Regions from separate parts of the Homo sapiens genome. Here regions 2, 3 and 4 are each linked to region 1. The links are contacts of gene promoters, found by promoter capture Hi-C in blood cells and fetal thymus (Javierre and others, 2016). All regions are on one chromosome and are shown on one strand. The core of a region is centred on a gene start or on the middle of the fragment in contact, and the rest is flanking DNA. Distances in the headings are between cores, read along the strand shown.

Region 1 (3,413 bases), core at 299-2,798:
GTTCTTTGGTGTCTCAGTTCTTGAGATTTTGACTGGATGCTAGTTACATCGACCCAACTAGGGTTCACTTGGGAAATAAAGCATCTGTGAATAGTAGTCTATTAAGTCTTTTCTGCATAGTCATTCTGGCTACACAACAGAACTGAACACTAGGGGTAAAGATGTATACTCTGAGGATATCGATTTGTACATTAAAAATTCACTGAAATCTGTTAAGAATTTACTAAGGTACAGTTCTGCCATAAAAAATAAGGCTATCTCTTTCAGGAAAGACAGAATTCCAGTGAAATTTAAAATTACTGACTTATTGACCAAATTTGGATAAAGATTTGAAAGGTATTTTTTAATGACAAAAATATAAATAAACTGTTTTCATTTTTACATGTATTTAAAGAAGCTTTCTTGTTTCGTTGAAATTACAAGGAACTAGATAACGGTCTCCCCGCCATCTCCTGAGAACAGTCTTTTTTTTTTTTTTTAAATCTTTTTTGAGAGCAGTCTTTAAGTGTGCCAACACTCAAAGGTTTACCAAGGCTGGAGCTTCAGTTGTGTCGTTATTTTCATTTCCTGCCCATGCCAATTTATATTAAAAATTAAACCACTTTTGTCACTGGTCTAGAAAATGTATCCTTGTAGATCATCACAACTTATCGATAAAGTGAGAGACTCAAATTTCAATAATTAGTTCCTATTCACACACTTAGTAGCCTGAGGACAGTCTTGGAATACAAGTTCTATCTAGAAAATGAGGTCTCCATTTTGTTCATTTTTGTGTCAGAAGACCACTCCTACCACTTTGATACAAATATGATGCATACAAAAAAGGACTAAGAATTTAGACTTTCCTTTGTTAGGTTCTAGATTTTACTTAAAATGAGGTGGTATTTTTTTCTTTCAGGAAGTTCTTTTTAAAAGTGAAATAGTACAGTGGAAACTCTAGTCCAGGTCCGGTAATACTGGGTGGCACTCACTGCCGCCCATCAGAACAGTGATACTCTGCCGACAGTTTTGTGCACACCATATCCAGTAATTTTTGCTATAAGTATTTCTCTGGATCGTATGTTCTTGGAAGATGGAAAGATTTCTTCAGTTGTAGAAACAGAGAAATCACTCCTATTGCAATTAATCTCCACCAGAGGGAGATGACCAACAGTGTTCTTCAATACTGAGTTTTACATATTCTGCCAAGCTGGGAACTAGACATGAACAGAAGAAAGAAACAGTGCACAAACGAAAAATAAGCAGTACGTGACCATAGGAATGGACCTCAATGCAGAACAAGGATTGCCTACTTTTTTCTCCTAGCCTAGGAAACCTAGACCAGTGAGTCATCCAGAGTAAGGTAGGAACACGAACCTTACAACCCAATACGGGTTTCACTTCTACTAGGTTTATTCTTTTGAAATCCGAAAACTAAAAGGAATTATTCTTACCTCTGGAGGTGCATAGGTGCCAAATCCCAATACAGGCATGAAGTGGCCATCATTTAGCTTTACACACTGGTGTTTGGAATCCATTCCCTGTCACTTGTCTGACTAGCAAATGTTTGCTGCTGCTTCTCCTCAGAGATTACAAAAACAATGGGCAGGAAACCCCTCCCCCCACCCCTGCAAACTGACTGATGGTTAACCAATGGCATGTAGGAGGAGGTACATAGGCAGTCTTATATGGTCTGTGGAGAAAATTGCATTCAGTTCATTTGTTTCTTATCAAAGAGAATTCCTAAGTAAATTATTATAATATATGGTTATAATAAACTCATTAATTTCTATCTAAAGTATTATTTTCTATTCTAAATCTCTATATTAAATTATTCAAAAGGATTTGTAGAACAAATAGCAACCATATGTTAGACTATAAAAACCTCCAGCTACAAATATCTTTTTTCGTTTCTGCCGTGATAATGCCCCTTCTTTATACTGCATCATTTGAAATAATTAACCATCTTACGTCTTTCTCTCACATACACATAATTTAAAGGAATGACTAATGAGAATTTTTCAAATAGTTGGTCCTCAATAAAAAATTAAAGTTAAAACTGTAAAAATATTTGCCTTTTTACATTTTCAATCAGAAAATTTATTTTGATTTTTCTTTCTTTGCGTTGTAAGAGAAATATTCATTTCTGAAGAAGATGCAGTCCTGATAAAGCTGTAATCCTGATGAGGGTGCAAATAAAAAGAAATTCTGGTGTAGTTTTTATTGGAGTGTTAATTATTAACAGTTTTTGGAGTTTGGACATCATTTAATATATGCAAGCAGTGCCTTAATAGTATTTGTTCTTCAACCAGGTTTATTACAGACTATCAAGAAGTAACTAGCCAAAAAACTGATAACCATTTTATATAATCTGTCATCTTGTTAAACATTATTTGTAAGGAAAAACTGGAAATTAATTACATATAAATGGATGAATAATTCTCATGTGGGATAGTTTTCACTTGTTCCTTCCTTTGGAGGGCAGATTAGAACATGATGAATGTAGTTTGCACAATACATTATCAACATCTTGGAGTTGTCAGAACTTGCAATGCCCTGATTTCGTTCTATTTACTTTTCCTCAAATAATAACCAAAAAGTAAGTTGAGAAATAAGTTAATTATTATACATTGATACAATATAATATAAAATCATTGAAAGCTTTTACAGAGTGATTTCAGCAATATGGTGGATCAAAAGGCCCCTACTTGTCTCATGGACGCGTCAAGAAGTGATCTGAAATTGACTAAAATAAACTTATTTATTTATGGGGGTGCTGAGTAGAAATGTAGTATGATGCCAAGGGCAAGAGATTAGGGGAAGAGACGTGCAATAGTCCGTCTAACCCATTGAGGGGAAGCTGGGGTGTGAATTTTTGAAATAGTAAGCTATTCAAAAGCCAGTAGGTATTTGGGGGAACTACTAATGGGCACACACAGTCCAGGCAGATACAAGTTCAGAAAATTGCTGACAAGGCCTTAGGGTTTTATGTTGGGCTTATGCTAAGACTAAGAACATACCAAGCATATTAGTTGATAATCGTCATGACACAGAACAAATCTATATAGAGTTAGAAAAATGTCTATATTTTGAAATGCTCAAATAAAATAATAAGGTATATAAAGAAACAGGAAAACACAGTCCCTTATAAGAAAGAAAACGAGTTGACAGAAATTATTTTTGAAGAACCATGAGCACTGAAATTAGTAGAGAAAGGTTTTAAAACAATTATCTTAAATATGCTAAAATTTCCAATTAAAAATATGGAAATAGAACTACAGGAAATTGGGAAAAGCATATACGGAAAAATGAGTGTATCAACAATGATGTAGAAATTATACAAAATAAACCAAACAAATTTTGGAGCTGAACGATATAACTGAAGTGAAAATCTCACTAGAGGATTTCAACAGCAATTTGAGCAGAATGAAGAT
Region 2 (3,413 bases), core at 498-2,997, 250 kb before region 1:
GACTACTTTTTGGACTTGGTTTGTGTCCATGGATCTGGAGTCCCAGACTAAAAACCGTTTTCTTTGTCACCAGTCACGGGGATAGTTCTTTGCTGAGTGCTAAAGCAGGCCTCTGATTCCTTTACCTCTCTTCCTGCTGAGGCATTCCTGACGGAAGCTCTGTGCTCACCTGGCTCTGTGGTCCTCAGTCATGTCTCCCCTGCCCTAACCTTTCCTAGCACTCCTCCACAGAGTGTGGTCGGGGGAGCATTAGATGCAAATGAGGATTCCTCAGTCTCTGAAATAGACTTTTTGCAGAAATGTTTGCAAGAGGGGAGCAGGTGGGAGAAGAGCCTAAATGTCAGTAATAAATATGTTGTAGTTTTCAACAAAGGACGGGGTTCAGAGATACCCGGTGTGGTCATTTGCCATTTCAAAATTACAGGGCTGGTTAATTGTCCCACTCGGAAGAAGAATATGATGGATTTTCTAAAAGTGCATTTTACATTACAAAAGAAGCCTGAGTTCCTGGTAAGGTCATTTATTTGCATAAATATTGATTGAGTGGCTGTAGGTGTGAGAGGCAGCCCTGACTTCTGGGGATTGAGACAGGCTTCACAGTCAAGATGCTTGCTCCCAGAATAGCATCTCTCAGAATAATCTAGAAATTTATTTCCTGTTGAAATGGATAATTTCCATTCATTTTTTTAATCCTCACATGTCAGGTTATGTGTCTAAGAACTGTTGGATCAAGGTATCTATACTTTGATACTTTATAAAAATATTGTAATATTTAATAAAGATTGCCAATTTTCCCTCTTCAGTGGTTGTGCCAATTTACAGTCCAGGCAGCATTAACAAGACTGAGATTTAAGGTCCATTGAACCTGATCTTTGGGAAGACAGCTGGTGTGGCAGTGAGGGGACTGCCTGCAGCTATGGAGGGGAGCCCATCTGCTAGGAAGATGTCCAGGAGGGGACTCTATCCAGTGTTGGGGCCAGGGAGAGGTTCTTGGACACCTAGGCTGATATTTAATTTGGGAATTGGAGGAGGACTGATCCATTTCCAGCGGGAAAGAAGTTCATCATTTACTTGGAGCAATGCTGCTGTCTTCTTGTCTCAAATTCCTTTCTCTTAATATTTGTTATCTGTTTTTACTGATGCCTAATAATTGGGGTACATGCAATATGTACCAGTAAGTAGCAATGGGGTTTCGATACATGCATACACTGTGCAATGATCAAATCATAGTATTTAGGATATCCATCACCTCAAGCATGTATCATTTCTTTGTGTTGGGAACGTGTAGAATCTTTTCTTCTGGCTACTTGGAAATATACTGTAAGTTGTGGTTAACTGTAGTCATCCTACTGTGTTATAGAACACTAGACTTTATTCCTTCTATTTAACTGTATTTCTTTTTTTGTTTTAATTTTATTATTATACTTTAAGTTTTAGGGTACACGTGCACAATGTGCAGGTTTGTTACATATGTATACATGTGCCATGTTGGTGTGCTGCACCCATTAACTCATCGCTTAGCATTAGGTATATCTCCTAATGCTATCCCTCCCCCATCCCCGCACCCCACAACAGTCCCCAGAGTGTGATGTTCCCCTTCCTGTGTCCATGTGTTCTCATTGTTCAATTCCCACCTATGAGTGAGAACATGCGGTGTTTGGTTTTTTGTCCTTGTGATAGTTTGCTGAGAATGATGGTTTCCAGTTTCATCCATGTCCCTACAAAGGACATCAACTCTTCATTTTTTATGGCTGCATAGTATTCCATGGTGTATATGTGCCACATTTTCTTAATCCAGTCTATTGTTGTTGGACATTTGGCTTGGTTCCAAGTCTTTGCTATTGTGAATAGTGCCGCAATAAACATACGTGTGCATGTGTCTTCATAGCAGCATGATTTATAATCCTTTGGGTATATACCCAGTAATGGGATGGCTGGGTCAAATGGTATTTCTAGTTCTAGATCCATTTAACTGTATTTCTGTGCCCATTAACCAATCTCTGTTTAATCCCCACCCCTGTATTTCTGTACCCATTAACCAATCTCTCTTTAATCCCCACCTCTTCATAGCCTCTGGTAACCATTAACTACTCTCCTCTCTATACAAGTGCTTCTATATTTAATTCTTCCTTCCAGAGAAGAAGGCAGGGAAAAGTATTGTGAAAGTTTGGTAAACTTAAAGATGTGTTACTTGTTGTATCATTAACAGAGCTAATATGCAATCTAAAATTATTTACTTGAATAAGTAACTCATCTGTATGTTTAAAAATATGAGAAGTATACAAAGGCACACTGTGAAAAATCTACCTTCCACCCTTGTCCCCTGGCCATCTAATTCTCTCTTGGGAGGAAACCAAACTTACACATTTCTTGTATTTCCTTCTGGGGACACTAAAAAATAACATATATATAATATGTATATATACATGTATATTCTTTTGCCTCCCCTTTTACCACAATGATAAAAAACACTTCCTGAATCTTTCATACTCCAACTTAAGATGTCTCATAATTAATTAAAGCAGTCCCATGTTGATGGTCATTTGAGATGTTTCCAATCCTTTGCAATTACAAGTAAACTTCTGCATATGTATATCTGTAGGATAAGTTCCTAGGAGAGGAATGGCTGGATCAAAGCATCTGTACTTTTTATAATTTTGAAAACTATTGCCAAATCTCCCCCATGGATTATGCCAATCTATACTCTTCAATGGGAATATATGAGAATGCAACCTAAGGCCCAAAGAGTAGAATTTTGGGGATAAAGACAGGAGGAAATAATTATGCAGTAGCAGCAGCAGCTGCTTGGCCTCCTGGTAAGCGTGACACAGCACTGGACAACAATTCCCATGTGGCTGGGCCTGAGGGGTACGTGCCAGCACCAGCCCAGTGTGGATGTTATGGCCAGCACAGAATCTTCACGAGAGCCAACCCTGCAGTTATGTGATCATGACACTCAGAGAACAAAGGACAAATACGGTGCAAACTTTATAATAAAGTTATATTTCTATATCATTATAATCAAAGATTTCAGGCTTACCAGCTGGGAGAGTTTAGATTGATTCCCATTAAAATTAACACAAAATTCTCACTTCCCATAAGCTCCCATCCAACTGAGAAAAGTGGGTCTTTCATAGACCGCCTCCCCAAATATTTCTGGGCTTCTGCTGGGGTGTGTGCATGTGGTAACCAATCATTCCTGCCCACTGCTCACTGCTTCTCTTGCCAGCCGTGACTCTGGGCCATGACTTATAGAATCCACAGGGGGCTCTGCTGCTCCAGGATGGTGACATGTTCATGCCACACGTCCGCTGGTCCAGGAGCACACCATGAAAACCACTAACCACTAATGAGTTCTCAATCTTGGCTGCCCATTCAAATCATCATCTAGAGAGACTTAAAAAATATTCCTC
Region 3 (3,413 bases), core at 231-2,730, 230 kb before region 1:
GCCTGGTAAACAGTCAGTGGCAGATTTCTAACTGAACCCAGCAGCGGCCAGAAGAGCCATTTGCCTAAGTCACTGACCCCCAGAATTGTGACAGAAGTTGCCCCACGGTGCGATCGAGCATTGTTCCTGGAGGCCTAGAGTAGAGGCTAGCTCTGTGGACCATCATGATTCTCCTACTTACCATCCTTAAGTAAATTCCTTTTCAGTTTAAACTCTTGTGTTAGTCCATTTTGCATTGCTACAAGGGAATACCTGAGGCTGGGTAATTTATAAAGAAAAGAGGTTTATTTGGCTCCTGGTTCTGCAGGCTCAGGAAGCATTTCCTCACGGCAGGAGGCGGAGGGGGAGCAGGTGTGTCACATGGCGAGAGAGGGAGCAAAGGAGAGGGGAGGAGGAGGTGCCAGAGTCTTTTAAACAACCAGCTCACAGGAACTAACAGAGTGAGAACTCACTCATTACCTCGGGGAGGGCACCAGGCCACTCATGAGGGATCCAACCCCATGACCCAAACATCTCCCACTAGGCCCCACCTTCAACACTGGAGATCCCATTCCAACATGACACTTGAATGGTACAAGTATCCAAACCAAATCCGCTATCCAGAGTTTGCAACCAAGAACCTTGACCAACATCTTGGTAAAAGACACAGCAAAAGAAAACAGATGAAACCCACAGAGTCCTGCATCTCATCCTTCATGCCAACCCCCAGAGTAGCCTGGGTGGTGCAGTGGCCTCAGTGAAGGTCACTGAGCTCATAAGGAATCCTATCCTAGCTGTGGAGTTTGGCCAAAATACGGATGGAAGTGGGCTAGAAGGAGGTGGAGACTGAGATTTTAGAGAAAGATGACTAAGGACCCCACGGCTGTCTGAGTGAGCACTAATTCAGGGTCACATGGGCTGTCCTCAGTTGAGATAGAAGAAACTGAGAGACAGGAAATACTGAGATTCGGTAGTGAACCTGGACAGAAAGAGGAGGGAGACAGGTAGCCAAAGGCTGAGGCCAAAGGAAGCCAGGGATGTGCTGGAGTGGAGGCTGGGGAACAGCTTCAGGCTGGTGGCTCTGGGAGGCCTGGAAACTGAAATCATCGCCTCTGCTCTATAATGTCTCTGGGGGAGGCAGGAATTGATTTCCCTGTGGGGCTGTGGTTTCGAGTGCAGGCAGGAAGAAAGGCAGCTCTGGACACCGTCTTGTTCTCCCTTCTGGGATGACCACACGAACTTACGCAGTCTTTGCTCTGCCTCACTGGTTTCTGCTTCCCCTGTCCTTGGCCCCCACCTTCTCTGCTGTCACAATGTGGACAGGAGACAAGGTCTTCAATTCTATTAAGCGCAGCACAATGATTTATCTGTGTTCTCTGCATTTGAAATCAAATCAGAGTCAAATCTGATCACTGAGGAACAGAGAAACTCATTTAAGCCAAGGGCTTTGCTGGTCATCTCCATCAAAGGGGGAAGGAAAGGGCTCTGGTTCAGTTAGCCTGGGGAGGGGATGAGGTCGTGTGAGGTGGATTTATAATTGAGCCTACAGTAAAACTCGGAGGGGGCTGGGACAGCTTCCCCTTCCCACCCACATGCAGGCTGGCAAACAGCACTCCTGTGTTAGGTCCCTGGAGCACCTGTGCCTCTGTCTTGTGTCCCCTGTCTTGAGTCTTGGGAGGAGGCAGTGCCCGTTCCTCAGCGAAGAGCACAGTTCAAACCCTTCCTCCCACTGCACTGTCGCGGAGTCTGCAATCACAGTGGCAGAGGCTTTCTGCTTTGAGGCTTGTCAGCCTTCAGGAAACTCAGATTTAGCTCCAAATGCCATGGAAAGAGGAATTTCTTCAACCATTAGAGGCAGGGGGCTTGGTCAAGCCAGAAGGCAATGGAACAAAGCACAGGTTGGGAGAGGAAGGGAGAGGCGTGGATCAGGGGCTAAGAATCAACCAAACACCAATCAGGCCAGTTTCCAGTCTTGTCCAGGGCTGGCTTTGATTCCAAGCGCTGTTAGAATTACAGTTTTCTTTCTTTCTTTCTTTCTTTTTCTTTCTTTCTTTCTTTCTTTCTTTCTTTCTTTCTTTCTTTCTTTCTTTCTTTCTTTCTTTCTCTTTCTTTCTTTCTTCCTTCCTTCCTTCCTCCCTCCCTCCCTCCCTCCCTCTCTCTTTCTCTCTCTCTCTCTTTCTTTCTTCCTTTCTTTCTTTCTTTCTTTCTTTCTTTCTTTCTTTCTTTCTTTCTTTCTTTCTTTCTTTCTTCTTTCTTTCTTTCTTTTTTGAGATGGAGTCTTGCTCTGTCACCCAGGCTGGAGTGCAGTGGTAGATCTCCGCTTACTGCAACCTCTGCCTCCCTGGTTCGAGCAATTCTCCTGCCTCAGCCTCCCCAGTAGTTGGGATTACAGGCGCCCGCCACTGTGCCGCCAAATTTTTGTATTTTTAGTAGAGACAGGTTTTCACCATGTTGGCCAAGCTGGTCTCGAACTCCTGACCTTAAGTGATCTGCTTGCCTCATCCTCCCAAAAGAATTATGGTTTTCTAAAGCTGGTGTATGGGAAATGAGTAAAGTAAACCACTCTGCTGGAGCCTCCTGTCTATGCAGGTTCACACTCTAAGACTTAGAAATTTTGTGGGAAGACATTCCCATCTTTTCTTTGCTAATAGTGGATCTCTTTTTTAAATGATTTTTTTCAACTCTGAAAATATAAACTCCATGCAATAGGTAAAGGTGCATGTCTTAACACTGTGTCCCTGACACAGAGTAGACACTCAGTAAGAATGTAAGCCACACAGATGAACTGTTGTGTTTTCCAACCCGTAATACCTCAAAGGAAAACAAGTTCCAAAGACCAACGACGTCACGGTGTGCAAAGTAACACTTCTTTTGTCTTGTTCTTAAAGAAGAAACCAGTATTTCAAGTTCAGAAGAATAAGTGATTGCATTGTCAGTGGTTTTCAGTATCTTTCTTCTTTTTTATTTTTAAAGCAGTGAAATTGTTTTATTAAATCTAATTTTACCTGGAACTTCTTGTTCATCATGGGGCAGGCCTCCCCTTTCTTTCCCCCTTGGGGTGGCTCAGAGGGAACTGGAATCCCGGTACTCCTGGGCATGGGAAAACCCCTGGACCTTCCAACTTCAGAGTTCTCTGCTGTGAATATCCGCTTCACAAGACATCCCGTGGGTGTTGAGAGATGCTGAGTTCAGTTTCTCCTTCTCTCATCCATTTTAGAGTTTCACACTTGTCACTATTAGGAAATGCTGCATCTTTTCTAACCCCAATTTCTAAAAATTTATTTACTTATTTATTTTTTGAGACAGGGTTTCCCTCTGTCACCCAGGCTGGAGCGCAGTGGTGCGATCACAGCTCAGAACAGCCTCAACCTTCTGGGATGAAATGATCCTCCTGCTTTAGCCTCCCGAGTAGCTGGAACTACAGGTGTGTGCCG
Region 4 (3,413 bases), core at 481-2,980, 210 kb before region 1:
ACCTCAAGGGCTCAGGGCTCCCAGCTACTCAGAAGGCTGAGGCAGGAGAATCGCTTGAACCCGGGAGGCAGAGGTTTCAGTGAGCCGAGATTGCACCACTGCATTCCAGCCTAGGCAACAGAACAAGACTCCATCTCAAAAAAAAAAAAAATAGGGCAGCTAGGCATGGTGGTATACCCCTATAGTCCCAGCCATATGGGAGGCTGAGGTAGAAGGATGACTTAAGCCCTAGAGTTTGAGTCTAGCCTGGGTAACACAGTGAGACCCCATCTCTAAAAAATAAATGAAAAAGTAAAAACTGGGAAGCTCCTTGATTAATATGTGACATGTTTATTATAGAGACAGTTTGGCTTTTAAACTCACAGATAATATTGCTCTGTCTCTGAAGGGACAGCAGACATTTCCAGACCAACTCCTGAAAATGACTAATGGGAGCAAGAGTACCCAAAAGACTACAAACCCTTTCACCAAATCAGGGGTCAGTAAACTGTCATACGTGATTTGGCAAGAAAACTGAAGGATCTATGAGACGTTTGAACCGACACATTTTAGAGAATTTCCTTTAAATGATGAGGGTATTGAAGGAAATGAGGGTAAATTCTATTAGAATGTAGCCAATATCTGGAATTGGCCAGGAAGTAAAGATATCCCAATTTTGTTTGGATGGTAGAGATGGCTTATAGAAAGTGGTCATTGCTAGGTTACTAAATTTGTTATATTCCAGAAAAATCAAAGGAGAAAGAAAGACATCAAATACCACACAAATATAAAATGACAGCTGCCCATGAGCTTTTGAAACACTAAAGACAAATTTAGTTGAGTTTCTGGATTTCAGTTTTGAAGTTTCTGTTGGCCCAACATGTTCTCAAAAGGATGTAGCCTTTACTGGATCTGATTAGGCATTATATGCATAAGATGTAACATCTTGGATTTCTACTGGAATTATTACCACCTGAAGAATTTCAAAGTCCTAGCTATAAGAACAATCTGAATTATGGATTAAATTTTTTCTTTGGCATATATTCAGGGTCTTCTGTATAGAGATGAATTTGTGGTCATAATTGTGACAATATTATAAAATAATATTGATTTCTGCAAGGTCAAGTGCAGCAGACATCAAGGCTTACTAGCTGTCTTGCTCTAAAACTTTCTATAAGAAAAGCAATCTCATGTAGAGACAACACCAGGGATTTTAAAAGAAAAGAGCTATGATTTGGATTCTAGAAAGCATGCTTTCAATGAATGAGTTCATGTTTTTGAGAGTGCTTTGTACACTTTAAAATGTTCTATAAATGTGCATTCAACTTAAGTGAAATTGTCTATGATACTCAGAACCCATTACAATTCAGGTGAATGGATTTGGTAGCACCAGAAAGAGTGTAATTGAACTTTATAGGTTTATTTGGTAAGAAAGCGTCCTGTTCTCAGTGACTCAGGTGTAGGTACACAATGCTCTGAACCAATAGGGTTTGTTAGGACACTTTCCAGTGATGAGCAGGATTTCTCTGAGGAGTACACCGCTGTTACTCAGAGCAATTGACAAGGTAAGTAGGAGTTATGGCTTTGATATTTGCCATATTTGCTTCCCTCACTGCCTGTTTTCGTGCAGTTGCCCTGGATGTGGGATGGATGCAAAGAAGATTGTATTTAACTTACTGGCAATAGGATGAGGAGGTGGGCATCTATCAAGATAATGGTGAAGAGAAAACATTACCAAAATGCAGGGAGAAGACACACACAGACTGACAGGAGCAAAGGATGAAGGAGACTTTGACCCACTGGCACAGCAATAGAATGAGGAATAAAATAAAATATCTTCCGGGGTGATCAAAAGCTAGCGTATTTTATAGATCATGATAGGTTAACATCGTCAGATTTTCTGTAATCTACAAAACCTTATGATTGTTTCAGATAATTTACAATCCTGCATACTGCTATGCCTGTCAGGACTTGTTAAATTCCCACAAAATGCAAAAGTTAATGACTCTGTGAACCCTGAAGAGATACAGCTATTATTCATGGCCAGGCATAGTGGCTCATGCCTCTAATCCCAGCATTTTGGGAGGCTGAGGCAGAAGGATCACTTGAGCTCAGGAGTTTTAGGCCAGCCTGGGCAACATCGTGAGACCTCATCTCTACTAAAAATTAAAAAAAAATCAGCCAGGCATGGTGGTGCGTGACTGTATTCCTAGCTACTCAGGAGGCTGAGGTGGGAGGATTGCTTGAGCCCAGGAGATTGGGGCTGCAGTGAGCTATAATCATGCCACTGTACTCCAGCCTGGGCAACAGATTGAGACCCTGTCTCAAAAAAACTCCAACAGCAACAGGCCGGGTGCAGTGGCTCACGCCTGTAATCCCAGCACTTTGGGAGGCCGAGGCGGGCAGATCACGAGGTCAGGAGATCGAGACCATCCTGGCTAACATGGTGAAACCCCGTCTCTACTAAAAATACAAAAAATTAGCCAGGCGTGGTGGCGGGTGCCTGTAGTTCCAGCTACTCGGGAGGCTGAGGCAGGAGAATGGCGTCAACCCGGGAGGCGGAGCTTGCAGTCAGCCGAGATTGTACCACTGCACTCCAGCCTGGGCAACAGAGTGAGACTCCCTCTCAAAAAAAAACAAAACAAAACAAAACACAAAAACAAAAACATAAAAAACAACCCCAACAGTAACAAGAAAACAACTGTTAGTCAGGTGGAGTGTTACCCCAAACTTAAACACTTTCCAAGCTATTCTTGCCTTGATCACTCATGTTAGCAGAGAAGGGGGACCCTGTTAAAAACATTAAATGGCCAGAACAATAGAGGGAGAGTCTATTTGGACTCCCTGGGGAAATTGTTTTCCAAAAACAGCCCAAGAACAGCCCAAGAGAGCCGGTTTGTTATAGTTCTAACTGAGGAAGAGAGAAATTATCTATCTCGAGAACTTGAGTGAGAGGCTTGCTTTCTTCTCAGGGAGATTCTGGTGAAGATACGAAAGAAAGTTCTGTAAATAAACATGAGATTGTGACACAGATGTTTAAGAATTCTCTAACAATAATCGAAAATCTGGCCTGTCACACAGTGCATGTTCATGGTGAACCTAAATCATTTGTAGACAACCTACTTCTGGGTCAGGGCTTTATACAGGGCAGAGCAGCTCCCTCGCTGTGATCTATTGAAAGTCAGCTCTTGATTTGTAAAAAGTATAAATAAAACAGAAAAAGAAAATTAAAAAAAATTCTGAAGGAAATAACAACAAAAGCTAGTTTCTAAACACTCTTTGGCAAGGAGAGCTGAAATACTTACAGATAAGTAATAAACCCATTGTTTTGCTTTAATCTCTTTGAAGGAACAAACTGTTGGCTTGTCAAGGGTGCAGCGAAGGGACTGATCGCCATCTGATTGATGAGTTTGTGAAGGAGTTCCCATAACTGA

What was found. The method cuts DNA at HindIII sites, captures the fragments that hold promoters and counts their contacts. A CHiCAGO score of 5 or more calls a contact.
Region 2: a fragment that was not itself captured here is called in contact with the fragment with the promoter of AKR1C3 in region 1 in 9 of 17 cell types (M0 macrophages, M2 macrophages, non-activated CD4 T cells and 6 more); the score reaches 10.5 in M0 macrophages.
Region 3: a fragment that was not itself captured here is called in contact with the fragment with the promoter of AKR1C3 in region 1 in 5 of 17 cell types (M1 macrophages, monocytes, M0 macrophages and 2 more); the score reaches 8.5 in M1 macrophages.
Region 4: a fragment that was not itself captured here is called in contact with the fragment with the promoter of AKR1C3 in region 1 in 7 of 17 cell types (M0 macrophages, monocytes, M1 macrophages and 4 more); the score reaches 11.0 in M0 macrophages.

What each region holds. Positions count from the first base shown.
Region 1 is chr10:5,092,549-5,095,961 of GRCh38, reverse strand. It overlaps AKR1C3 (aldo-keto reductase family 1 member C3), which reads right to left and starts at 1,548. Exons shown (of 9, transcript NM_003739.6): 1 at 1,434-1,548. The coding sequence starts at 1,517. It overlaps LOC124900291 (U8 small nucleolar RNA), which reads left to right and starts at 2,419; the gene lies at 2,419-2,554. RefSeq lists an enhancer at 1,411-1,705. The HindIII fragment of the contact is 2,243 bases long and covers 400-2,642 here.
Region 2 is chr10:5,343,619-5,347,031 of GRCh38, reverse strand. No RefSeq gene overlaps it. Among named protein-coding and RNA genes, the nearest start is that of UCN3, 20 kb to the left of the region's middle. The HindIII fragment of the contact is 7,410 bases long and covers 1-3,413 here.
Region 3 is chr10:5,323,035-5,326,447 of GRCh38, reverse strand. No RefSeq gene overlaps it. Among named protein-coding and RNA genes, the nearest start is that of UCN3, 40 kb to the left of the region's middle. The HindIII fragment of the contact is 4,550 bases long and covers 1-3,413 here.
Region 4 is chr10:5,299,542-5,302,954 of GRCh38, reverse strand. No RefSeq gene overlaps it. Among named protein-coding and RNA genes, the nearest start is that of LINC02561, 30 kb to the right of the region's middle. The HindIII fragment of the contact is 6,366 bases long and covers 1-3,413 here.